Regions from separate parts of the Homo sapiens genome. Here all the other regions are linked to region 1. The links are contacts of gene promoters, found by promoter capture Hi-C in blood cells and fetal thymus (Javierre and others, 2016). All regions are on one chromosome and are shown on one strand. Each heading gives the region's core, a stretch centred on a gene start or on the middle of the fragment in contact. The rest is flanking DNA. Distances are from core to core; before and after follow the strand shown.

Evidence for each region. The method cuts DNA at HindIII sites, captures the fragments that hold promoters and counts their contacts. A CHiCAGO score of 5 or more calls a contact.
Region 2: a contact is called between a fragment that was not itself captured here and the fragment with the promoter of SNW1 in region 1, in 1 of 17 cell types (endothelial precursors). The highest score is 5.8, in endothelial precursors.
Region 3: a contact is called between a fragment that was not itself captured here and the fragment with the promoter of SNW1 in region 1, in 1 of 17 cell types (M2 macrophages). The highest score is 5.1, in M2 macrophages.
Region 4: a contact is called between a fragment that was not itself captured here and the fragment with the promoter of SNW1 in region 1, in 1 of 17 cell types (neutrophils). The highest score is 5.3, in neutrophils.

The regions. Positions count from the first base shown.
Region 1 is chr14:77,759,501-77,762,627 of GRCh38, forward strand. It overlaps SNW1 (SNW domain containing 1), which reads right to left and starts at 1,656. Exons shown (of 14, transcript NM_012245.3): 1 at 1,614-1,656. The coding sequence starts at 1,627. SLIRP-OT1 (SLIRP overlapping transcript 1) reads left to right here and starts at 1,268. Exons shown (of 2, transcript NR_161324.1): 1 at 1,268-1,616. RefSeq lists enhancers at 846-1,620, 1,528-1,847, 2,395-3,127. The HindIII fragment of the contact is 7,128 bases long and covers 1-1,974 here.
Region 2 is chr14:78,604,806-78,607,932 of GRCh38, forward strand. The region is part of intron 4 of NRXN3 (neurexin 3); the gene reads left to right. Among named protein-coding and RNA genes, the nearest start is that of NRXN3-AS2, 100 kb to the right of the region's middle. The HindIII fragment of the contact is 1,161 bases long and covers 985-2,145 here.
Region 3 is chr14:78,562,296-78,565,422 of GRCh38, forward strand. The region is part of intron 4 of NRXN3 (neurexin 3); the gene reads left to right. Among named protein-coding and RNA genes, the nearest start is that of NRXN3-AS2, 150 kb to the right of the region's middle. The HindIII fragment of the contact is 5,632 bases long and covers 1-3,127 here.
Region 4 is chr14:77,093,183-77,096,309 of GRCh38, forward strand. No RefSeq gene overlaps it. Among named protein-coding and RNA genes, the nearest start is that of CIPC, 3.5 kb to the right of the region's middle. The HindIII fragment of the contact is 1,194 bases long and covers 919-2,112 here.

The sequences.
Region 1 (3,127 bases), core at 406-2,905:
GACCCTATATCAAAAAATAAAATAAATAAAAAATACCCATGACATCTCTAGAAATTTTTCCTGTGTGTCCATTTCAAATTCCACCTTTTCCACAAAGTCTCCCCTCATAACTTTACTAGTCTATGACACAGTGTCTCACACCTGGGGAGCACTCAAATGTTTGCTGCCTGTAACATTTACTAAACAAACTCTTGGCTGGGCATGGTAGCTCATGCCTGCAATCCCAGCACTTTGGGAGGCCTAGGTGAGAAGATTGATGGAGGCCAAGAGTTGGAGACCACTCTGGCCAACGCAGTAACACCCTATTTCTAGTTTTTTTTTAAAAAAATTTCAGATGCCGGGCATGGTGGCTCATGCCTGTAATCCTAGCACTTTCGGAGGCCGAGACAGGAGGACTGCTTGAGGCCAAGAATTCAAGACCAACCTGGCCAACACAGCGAGACCGCATCTCAAAAAATAAAGTTAAAAAAAAAAGCAAAAAAATTTTAGAAACGAGGGTGGGGAGAAAACTCTCCAGCCCACATAACTTATTCCATTCAATTCTTTTTGCACTAAGGTTAGTATTACACAAATGCACATTTTGTGTTCTGTAATTGTTTTATGTCTGTATACCTTGCACCCCTATCTTCCCTGTTGCCAAAGACAGATTTTCTTCTGTGTACACAACCCCCAGGACAGAGCAAGGCACCAACAGTAATTCCCAAAATAATTTTTTGATTAAAACTTTTGGAGTCATACTGTCATCAGCCAGAAAAAAAAACATGCGTGAGGAGAATGAAGGGTGTTAAAAGAGCTCAAGCTGATGTCCTGAAAGGATTACTTTATCTATAACCTTCCTGAACACTAGCCTTTTCCTGTTGAGTTCGCATGGAAAGTTTTTCCACTTAAAATGGGGCAGCAAGGCTGGGAACTAGTAGGAGTAGCGTAACTTCTCGGACTCTCCCACTGAAAAGCATCTTTTTCTTAAAGGCGGAGAGCACTTTACAGACGGTTACTAAGGTAACCGGAAACAGCAAAACTGAGGTGGTTCTATCTACGGAAGAAATTCTAAGCTCCAAAGTTAAAATGCGGAGCAGTGGCGCATATCAGCAGACGGCGGTCACTACTGTGGCTCATTTAAATCTGTGTTCAGCTCCGGGCCTCTTTTTTCAGGAATCCTTGTTTCGGGACACCCAGTGGACAGCGAAAGGAGAGAGACCACCACAGGCAAACGGCCGGAAAGCCGCGCAGTCGCAGCCCGCGCGCTTCACTCCGCCCAAATAAGCCACTACCGTCACCAACCCCATCTCGTTCGCCCGAGCCGCGGACCTGAGGGAGCGCTGTCCGCTCCCCGCAAGATGCTCACGCGAAAAACCCACTCTTCAGTGTCTGAGACCACTCCGCAGCTTTCGGCCTCGGTGAGCGGGTGAACTAAACCCGGGAAACCGCTGAAAGACCCCAGCTTCGACTAGGCCTAGTCGTAGCGGCGGCCAGCGGGAGGGCGTAGCCGTAGTCTTGGCCCACGTCATTCTGTGCCCCGGGTCAGGTCACCGCCCGGAGGGTATGGGAAGAGAAATGAAGAAGACTGGTACTCCCAGACCCTTCCGTATCGAGGACCCCAATCAACAACCCACCTGGTGAGCGCCATCTTCTTCCGCTTCTTCCAGCGCGAGCGACAGCACCGCTGGGCGGGTCTTTCCAGATGATGAGGAGCGGAAAGGAAGGAGTGCGCGATGCGCAGGCGCTCTGGCCGAAAAGGCCTTCTGGGATTTGTAGTTCTTTGAACAGGAGTACCGTTTGTATTCTGACCAGACCAAGCGGTTATCAAGGAATAATCTCTTCAGCTAGCAACAAATGCATAACTCGATCGCTTATATGCGACATGATAGGGCGTTCCCTAGGCAAAATATCAAAGATACAGGGAGATGCCTTTTAGGCCGCTTTATTACGTTCCTTACTCAGTCCCGTTCCCCGAGAAGGGGTACAAAATACAAAAGCTTCCCGGGGACAGCTACTTTAAGTAAGAGTGATAGGGCGTTTAAAACGACAGGTAATAATGAGACTAGCTAATGGAGAGTCCTTGGACTCTCTGAAAACATTCACACTCAAAACTTTTCTTTAAACCATATCCTCTCACCCGCCAAAACACTCTCTTGGGGAGATATTTCGTAATCCTTGGTAATTTACCGAGTGTCTGGGTTCTCTGCCCAGGGTATGACAAGGCTGAAATCTCATAGGAGGCTCTGGAGAAAAATCCATCTCCTAACTCATTCTTGTTGGCAAAAATCAGTTCCTGGCGGTTGTGGGATCGAGTTCCCTGTTTTGTTTTGTGCTGTTAGTGGTGGCCACCCTCAGCTCCTAGGGGTCACTCTCGAGTCCTTCCCACATGAGCCCTATTTATTGGTAGTTCACAACATGGATATTTGCTTTCTGAGGCACATCTTTCTGACTCCTCTTCTGCCACTGTTGGAGAAAAATGCCCTGCTTTTAAAGGGCTCATGTGATTAGATCAGGAGCACCTGGATAATCTCCCTATTTTAAGATCAACTCTTGGCCGGGCGCAGTAGCTCACACTTGTAATCCTAGCACTTTGGGAGGTCGGGGCGGGCGGATTGCCTGAGCTCAGGAGTTCGACAAAGCCTGGGCAACATGGTGAAACCCTGTCTCTACTAAAAATACAAAAATTAGCTGGGCGTTGTGGCGCGCTCCTGTAGTCCTAGCTACTGGGGAGGCTGAGGCAGGAGAATCGTGTGAATCAGGAGACGGAGGTTGCAGTGAGCCAAGATCACGCCACTGCACTCCAGCCTGGCGACAGAGTGAGACTGCGTCTCAAAAAATAAAAATAAATAAATAAATAAATAAATAAATAATATAAAAGAATAGCTGGGTGTGGTGATGTGCTCTTGTTTTCTCAGCTACTTGGGAGGCTGAGGTACAAGAATCGCTTGAACCCAGGAGGTGGAGGTTGCAGTGAGCCGAGATTGCACCATTGCACTCCAGCGTGGGTGACAAAGTAAAATTCTGTCTCAAAAAAAAAAAAAAAATCAACTCTGCCACACCGCATAACAGAATCAGAATCTTCATAGTCATGGCCCCAGGGGTTATGTAGGTCAGGTACTGTGGGGGTTGGGTGAGGAGGAGATCTTGG
Region 2 (3,127 bases), core at 315-2,814, 850 kb after region 1:
TCATAAGAGCCCCCTTAGTAGTCAATTATGAATGATAACAATAAAGATCCATGTTCAAAGTATTGAAAGCACTGTTTCAATAACTTTCTTACAGCATGGGTGTATGACAGACCAGAGACTAAATACGGAGTCCTAATTCTCAAGACAGTCTCAAAGGATATTCAAGATCAAATTTAGAAAATATATTGTCAGAAGCCTGTTCCCCAGAGTCACATTCAAAGATTTTTCTCAGAGAAATTTTCCTAAAGGCATGATTCTAAAGAGATCTAGTACAAGGCAAAGGATTTCGATTTTTTTTCCCCTACTACTTCCTCATCTCCACCCCACAAGTTGACCTGGAGTCATCTTTGGTCCTTTTGAGTTTTAAGTCATCATCTTCCCTCAGGCTCAAGAGGAAGCCTGCTGTATTTTGATGAGACAACTCACCTTTGATGTCACAGTTTTCACTCTTCAAGAACAAGGAGTCATTAGTATCTTGACATCTAACTGTATAAGTTAAAGCACTTCCTGGAAGCTCAAAGGGAAACACTGAACTCTTAACACACAGATTCTGCTGGAAGTAAATGACTCTGCCCTATAAAAGGAGGAGAAAGAAATTCTATTTGAGTAATGCCGTTGAAATATTAAAAGAAATTCAGAGGGAAAAATATCCAAGTGAATAATATATATTGGATCTCTGGCCTCTAATTTGACATTCAGGTCAGATCAAAACTAACCCTGTGAGATTCTGGAATTTAATGTCATATAAAAATGCTACTGGGCAAGGAACTTTATTACACATGATCATAAAAATATATGGGAGGCGCCATCTCTGGGTATTTTTCTATCAAATCTTTACTCATTTTACAGTCTTTACAAACAGAAGCCAGAAGTGCTATATTTGAACATCTACATTTGTTGGGATTTCTTTAAAAAAAATAAAACAAAAAGAAGAATCACATTTTATACGTGTTAAATGGTGTAGTAGTAAACCATGTTTAAAAAAGCTTCAGTTTTCATTGGTGTACAAAGCTGCTACATGTAAATATTGGAACCACTTTTTAAAAGAGGATTGCTGCAGTCAGATTTTTTAAAATAATAAAATAATCACAAAGTTCAACATATGGTGTCTTCATGTGATTATAAGTGTGCGAGTGTGTATACATGTTTTTAATTCCTTAGGATTAGCAGAATGACAAAATGTGTGAAGAAGGATAGATGATGGTTATTTCAAGCAGCACAAGAATTTGAGGAGGAGGTGGAGACTAAGAAGAGAGAGGAAAAAAAGATCAAGCAGGACAAGGGACATGGGTACAAGACTAGAAGAAAAGCTGGATTTCTTTAAACTAGAAAAATCAAAGACATCTGTTCCCCTTATGGCAATAACCACATTTTTCTAGAAATTTACACATTAACATCTAAAAATGGATTTGTGCTAAAAATACAAGCTATGCTCAATGCATGACTCTTGAATGACTTTCCCCTATGATTCCTCTGTAGTCATATGGCAAGGCCATGCCCTCATCTGACATTTTTTTTAGTCAGGAAATACCAACTTCAGTTTTCTTTGATCATGTGATTTCCTTGGCCTGGAAACTCTTCTCTGTCTTTCCCCCTAACCAACTCTTACTCATTCTTCTAGACTAACTCAGCTCTTTAATCACTGAGAAAACCTTCCCTGCCTATCTTTGTCCCTTCCTTAGTTTTACTGAATTTGCCTGCCCTGTACTCTGATAGCACATTGTATTTAAATAAACACTTACGGTCTCTCCCGCTAGGCTGTGAACTTCTTAAGTGAAAAGCCATGTTTTATTGAAATCTATATTTCTGGAACCTAACACAGTGTCCTAGATGCTCGATAAATATGTTTTGGACTAAAATATGCTGCTAGTTTAATGCTCCAGTTCCTGATGAAGCCAGGGCTTTCTTTCCCAGGAGACAGTCAACTCAGGGGGCATGTTTGGTTTAGTACCTGCCAGCGTGTTGTTGACAAACACCATATACTCTCTGTTGCAAAGCCAAAACATGACCTTTTCCACAAATGGAGTAAGCGTTTATTGGGGAATAAAAAAGTATGATGATTGTTTTTAAGTAACGTATAAACCTAAGTGTCTCAATAGAAATTGTGAGAAATATTTATTTACTGCGAGAGAAACATTTTCCTTAAGCTTTCATTGTTTTAGGTAGTCTTCGTTTTCCTGTTCCCCATCCTCCTAGGTTGAATTCCCTGATTCTGGCTGGCATGCTCATAATTTCTATGATCACAGCCCCATTGTCTGTTGGAGCTGAGGGCATTGTAAGTTTTTGTAAGCAGCCTTTGATAAGTTTTAGAGGTGTAGAGAAAGAGCTCTGTCTCCTCCCTGGGAGAATACTCCTTTCCCTACACCTCAGAGGACCAAATCATGTCTTTATTAATATGAAGCATTCATTCCAGTGGCATATTTTATTCATTACAAGAGGATCAGTAGTTTGAGCAATCAGAGATGAATTCTAATATATGGAATCCTTTCCCGCTGAGCTTCCATGAAAGCATTTGATCCTTTTTGGCCTGCCCCCTTTGAGCTGGCTCCTTTATTAATCCTAAAGGACCAAGGTGTAAGAACTCAGGCAGGACAACTGTCTCTTTAGGCAAACCCAGGCTTTGATCCGCTTCCCTGACACAGTGATCTCACCTCCTTTGGCTCAGTCCTCTCCTTCGTCATTGGCCCAGCTATGAGTCTGGAAGTCCCCACAGTGCCTTCTTTGGGTCAATACTATTATCGTGCACCTGCTATTTGCCTGGTGCTGTGCTAGAGACTCAGGATACAGATGTGTAGAGGGAAGAGTGTTTATTCTTGTGACCTTATCATGGAGAGCTTTCAGATGAGATTTATTCCTACCAAATTTATTATTTGAGTGAAACTGAACAGTTCCATTCTGATAAGTAAGGGAAGAACCAGGCATACTATGTTGCTATTCTCCACGATCTGTGTTAAGGTTTCTGTGGATGTGTGTGTGTGTCTACTTAAAGAAATGGCAGTCTATCCCTCTTACATCCTCAGATATTCACAGAGCCCCTCAGTGACATTTTTTGGCCTAGGCTTTTTAACATTCTAGAGTAGAAGAGTTGACTGGTAGGAACATTTCTAAGTGCTCTTTTGCACCATAA
Region 3 (3,127 bases), core at 403-2,902, 800 kb after region 1:
CTGAGGCAGAGGAATCGCTTGAACCCAGAAGGCGGAGGTTTCAGTGACCCAAGATCGCGCCACTGCACTCCAGCCTGGTGACAGAGTGAGACTTATATCTCAAAAAAAAAAAAAAAAAAAAAAAAAGTGCTGAGGCAGTGAGGCAGCTCTGGAAATAGCCCTTAACTGGCTTGGCAGCTTCTGTTTTCTGACTCTTAGAAGCCAGTTGCCATGTAAGTAATGTGACTACCAAAAAATGACCACACTGTGAGAAGCCCAAGTGTGGTGGAGAGGCCTTGGGGAAAGAGATAACCCATGAGGCAAGAAAGAGGCCCAGGAGGTCCCAGGCATGGGAATGAAGAAACCAGCTTGCACATCCTGCCCAGGCTACAATGGACTGTAACCACATGAGAGGTTCCAAGATTAAACCACTCAATTGACCCCAGCCAACTCATAGCACCATGAGAAATAACATTGTTTTAAGCCACTATATTTTGGAATAGTTTTCTTAAAAATATAAAGTGATAGATAACCATAATAGAAATTTGTGCTAGAGGAAAATCCTTAAGACTCTTGAAAGCCATTTTGTCTAACAAAGAGTGTAAATAAGATATGGCCTTAACGATCCTAAGTAATTTTTCTAGTTAAGAAATAACTGTAATCAGTTGAGTGTTTTTCCACTTTATGTGACTTCAGTTGAGGCTGCAATCATTTGGTGTCTGGATGAGATGGGACATCCAAGGTACCTCATTCACATAAATAGCTGGCAGTTGATGAGATAACTCAGCCAGAGAGAACCTATGCATGATCTCTCCATGTGACCAAGGCTTCTCACAGGATGGCAACTGGGTTCCAAGAAGGGCTATCTGAAGAAAAACTATTCTTAGAAAACCAGGCAGAAAAAATAAAATTTCTTATGACCTAGCTTCAGGAGTCATTCATTGTCACTTTTGCTATATTTTGTTGATCAAAAGCAAGGCAAAGGGCTCTCCAATATTCATCGATTAGGGGACTACACAAAGGGAAATATTAGGAGTCATGGTTTATTGGGGGGCTATCTTTGGAGACAAGCTACCTTGATGGATAGAGAAATGATAACGGAAATAGGTTTGATGAAAAACGTGGTTAATCTGAATTGCAGTAGGTCTGATGGTTGGTTGGCAAGTTGTCCTTATTCTGGTGTATGGGTGAAGGGAATAAGCAGTGAGTTAGCTCTTACCTAGATCCATCCCCTAGAAAGTAACTGTGTCCAGTTATCAATGGGCAGGGCTTGCTGGGCGTTAAGCACAGGTAACCTCTAGTCTTTTACTATGTTTCTGCGACAGTGGCATAAAACAGCTTTTTAATGAGACCTACTGAGATGCACTGACAGATCTCTTCCTTTCCTTTTGTGTCTAGCCCATCCACCTTCATGTAAATGATTTATCAAGAAATAAGACCTAGGATTTTGAGATGGGTACATAAGAGCAAAAGAGAACTAGGATGAGATCATTCTCTTTTGCCTGCCCTTCAGCATTCTCAATGCAAGCAGGTTGGGGTTCTAAAGGAAGAGCAGGGATGACTGGAACCCTATAGCAGTGAGTCTGAGGAATGGGATCATGGGGGACCCAGAAGGAGGAAGCAGAACTGGAAGATGTTTCCATTCTGTGAAAGTGGCTTTTGGCTTTGAGGCAGCAACAGTAATATTTCATGTCTTCCGTGGTGTCTCCTACCTTTAAATGTCAGTCTCTGCAGCTGCCTTATCTCCTGTAGCACATTTCAATTAGGTATTCCAAATTATACTCTTTTCTTCCAGGACAAATATGCCAGAGGTGATATTTACTGTTACAGCAGCATTTAAAATACTTAGGGGGAAAAAATCCTAGTGAATAGCAATTTCTCCCTTATAATAATAATAAAGCACAATAATAATGGAGAGAGGAGGTGAATTCTGGCTTTGATGCCAATAACTGGCTGACTTAAAGTGAACATCTTTTGTCTCCGCCCTCTTTTGTCCCCCTCCTCCTATTCCCGCCTCAGTGTGAAGGTTATAGTGTTTGGCTCTGTCAAGAGCAACCTCACACATCTTCTTCACTGGAGGCTCACAAATGCTCCTCAGAATGTCTATTTAACTATCTCTAGGTAGGACTGGGCTCTGACTGGGCTCCTACTTCACCCATTACCTGTTTCTTCCTTTGTCCTGAGAATGTTTGCATGAAGCCAGAATCTCTGTTTGTTTAGAAATTTACCAGGCACCACTGCTTACTCCTCACCTATGGGACATTGTAGGTCCTGATGGAACACCCCGGCCTCCTCTCTAGGAGGTATATGGGTTAGAAACTTATGTATTGTACCTTTCCTTCTTGGAATCAAGTCCTTGGCCTGGTAATGAAGGTCCTTCGATCTGGTCTGCATTTTCCAGCTCCATCTCCTACTAATCTTTATATCCTTATCTACTGTTTCCCTAGGCTGTTGTCTTCACGGCCGCCATGGTAGGTTTTGCCTATCATCCCAAACCTTGTGCAGGCCTACCACAGTACTTGACATATGGTGGGGGTCTCAGTCAGTATTCTCCCCTATATTTAGAACCCTTCCACTAGATCTTGTCTTCATATTTTTGATTCCTGCTCAGGGATCAGATTATGTTCCATGTCCTCCACTGAGCCTTTTCTGACCTCCTCAGCGCACTCAGTGCCGTTCCCTCTCTGAATTTCTAAAGTGCTCAGCAGCAGCAGCACTCATTTGGCACTTGGTATATACTATCTTATGCTATTTTGTATGACCATATGTTGTCTATACAACTACATTATAAGCACCTGATAGGGATAACTGTGCCCTGTGTGTTTTTCCTATCCCTTTGATTCTAAGATAGTTCCTTGAACATTGAAGATGCTCAGTTAATATTCATTTATTAAGTAGATAGATCAAGGAGTAAATGAAAGCAAGGATCCTAAGAAGCCTGCCTTTTGGTGCCAATCTATTCAATTTGGAATTCACAAACTTACCTAAAACAAGGCCTTTCAATTTCCTGTTTCCCCTGTAAACAGAGCTCTACCACCAGGATTTCTCAGAAGCTCTTTCTCCACACTGAACCCTAAAACTGAAGGTTCAGGTAGAGAGCTTTTCCAGTGTGAGAGAATTTTTAAAGCATCTGGGGTTTGGCACATCC
Region 4 (3,127 bases), core at 266-2,765, 670 kb before region 1:
ATTCCTCATAGTGCTTCTAGCTCCCCACTGGCCTCCTCCTTAGCATAGCAGGAAAGGCTGAGATATTACCCATTTCCACTTTAACATGGAGGCTGTCAAGCAAAGTGGCAAGGACTCTGGAATTCAAATCCTGGCTCTACCACTTACCACGGGTGACCTTGGCAAGTGACGTGGGCCTCCATATCTGAGCCTCCTGCTCTGTAAAAAGAAAATAATGATACTACACCCATCTCATAGACAGTGGGAGGATTAAATGAATAAATGTAGGCAAATCACTTAGGACAGCATCTGGCAAATAATAAGCACTACGTGTTGTTATGGAAGAATTTGTCTTGGGTTCTAGAGTATCTTGGTGTCAAGCAATTCCTTAAAGGAATTTCAAGTATCAGCAAGAAGACAGAGGGCTATGTGGGAAGGGTTTACACTGTCTCTAAAATCAAAACCTTCACCTGTATATGAACAGCCTGACCATAACCTGAATATTACCCTTTTAGTGTACCTGCTCTGCCAAATACTTCCCTAAAATATGAGCCAAGAACCAGTCTGGCTGGTGAGGGCCTTGTTACCTGACTGCTAAGGGAAAAAAGGTCATACATCCCACTATCACTGGCCTCTGCCTCTGCCATCTGGCACCTGTAGATCCCCCTGCCCACACAGGCTGGAGCCCCTCTCTTCTCTCACTGACCCATGAGACACACTTACCACTCCATCAAATCCTATTTAAAGACTTATGAAGTGATCAGCACCAATAATGCTAGATGCTAGATTCAAACTACAGGATAACTATTTTACAGACGGCCAAACTGAGGTTCAGGAAAATGAAATCAATGGTTCCCAAACACCAGTCCAAGAACTGTTGCCAGTCCTTGTGGTGATGTTTTCACCAGTCTTCAGCCAAACTGGAAAAATAAGACTAAAAGCTTTAAGTTTTTCATACACCCGAAATTATTCTATTTTTAAATTGTGAGGTTATGTCCTATCTTCCCTTCTGTGTATACGGAAAAGATATCAAAATGACCCTTCTTTTGTAAAATGATATTGATAGGAGCTGGAATTTGAAACTAGATCACTGACTTTCACCGTCTCCTATTACACTATTTTAATTACTTCTAAATTTTTTTTTTTTTTTTTTTTGAGACGGAGTCTCGCTCTGTCACCCAGGCTGGAGTGCAGTGGCACAATTTCAGCTCACTGCAGCCTCCGCCTCCTGGATTCAAGCAATTCTCCTGCCTCAGCCCCCTGAGTGGCTGGGATTAAAGGCGCATGCCACCATGCCCAGCTAATTTTTGTATTTTCAGTAGAGACGGGGTTTCACCACGTTGGCCAGGCTGGTCTTGAACTCCTGACCTAGTGATCTGCCCGCCTTGGCCTCCCAAAGTGCTGGGATTACAGGTGTGAGCCACTGCGCCTGGCCCACTTTTAAATATTTTTAAATGACTTTAATTTTAAATTCAACAATTATTAAACAATCGTTTATAAATATTTTAAATTGTATAACATAATACACTTAAAATATCTTCAAATAAAACTCGGCCCATGGCTGACTCTTCATGGTATCCTAGGCAGGGTTAAAAACTCAAATCCTCACACGGATAGGCAGGTTACAATTTCAAGAAGTAGATGGGAAAAAAAAAGAAACATTCGCAAGTCCCTAAATGTAGGATTTAAGGGCGCATGTCTCCCCCTGCTGGTTGTGGTGGTAGGAAACCGAACCTAGACCACAATGGTACTGGGGAGAACTTGAATTGGAAAGGACCCTACAGCAAGAAGAATAGGTGCTTCAGAACCCACTATCCATCACAGGGTCCTTACCCCATCCATCATAGGGTCCTTACTCCAACCAAGAGTAAAGAGAGTAAAGTGAGTGAAGGTTAAAGAATTCGTGGCACCAGTAAACTATCAATAGATGCTGATTTACAAATCTTGGTAAATTAATAGGAAAGGAAGAAAAACGTTTACGGTGGTTTAGCTACATAAAAATATTCACTATCAATCTTCATGAATTGCTTATTCTGTATATCTAATTATATAGAATCATAGCATAAAATAATCATAAAAATTATGCCTATCATTAGTCTTGATTCATTTGGTTCCATTACAATACTTGTCTGAAGCTTAAGTTATTGGTACAGCATGGCTGTCTGCTCAAGATGTAGGTAAAGTCAAGGAAGTTTGGTTTATTTGCCCCTTCGGAGGACTAAGAGGGCCTCATGCTTTCGCATATTTCACTGATTCTTTTTTGCTTGGTATGCATTATCCCCTCACCTGCTTCCATTATTGCAAACCCAACTTTCAAGCTGTCTTTAAAGCTTTACCTGCTGGTCTCTTTCTACTCCAACAACCGAAAAAGAAAGTTTTTTTTTTCTCCCTTAATGTTATTGTTTTGTTCAGAATCTTTTGGTAGTTATCCCATTCTCTTTCATATTGCTTATTACATCATGTCTTATTTCCCATATCAGATTGTAAGTTATTTGAAGGCAGACTTTTATTCTTTTTTTTTTTGAATTTTATTTTTGTTTTGTTTTTTATTTAAGTTCAGGGATACGTGTGCAGATTCGTTACATAGGTAAACTTGTGTCATGGCGGTTTGTTGTACAGATGATTTCGTTACCCAGGTATTAAGCCTAGTATCCATGCTGCTGTTTTTTAAATTTTTTATTTCCATAGGTTTTTGGGGAACAGGTGGCATTTTGGTTATATGAGTAAGTTCTTAAGCGGTGATTTGTGAGATTTTGGTGAACCCATCACCTGAGCAGTATACACTGCACCCAATTTGTAGTCTTTTATCCCTCACCCCCTTCCCACCCTTTCCCCTTGAGTCCCCAAAGTCCACTGTATCATCCTTATGCCTTTACATCCTCATAGCTTAACTCCCACTTATGAGTGAGAACATACGATGTTTGGGTTTCTATTCCTTAGTTACTTCACTTAGAATATAAGTCTCCAATCTCATCCAGGTTGCTGCAAATGCCATTAATTCATTCCTCTCATAGTTTATTTATTTGCCCCTTCGGAAAACTAAGATAGGACCACACCTCATGCTTTTGCTTATTTCATTGATTCTTTTTTTGCTTTGTGTGCGTCGTACTCTCACCCACTTCCATTACTGCAAATCCAACTTTTAGCT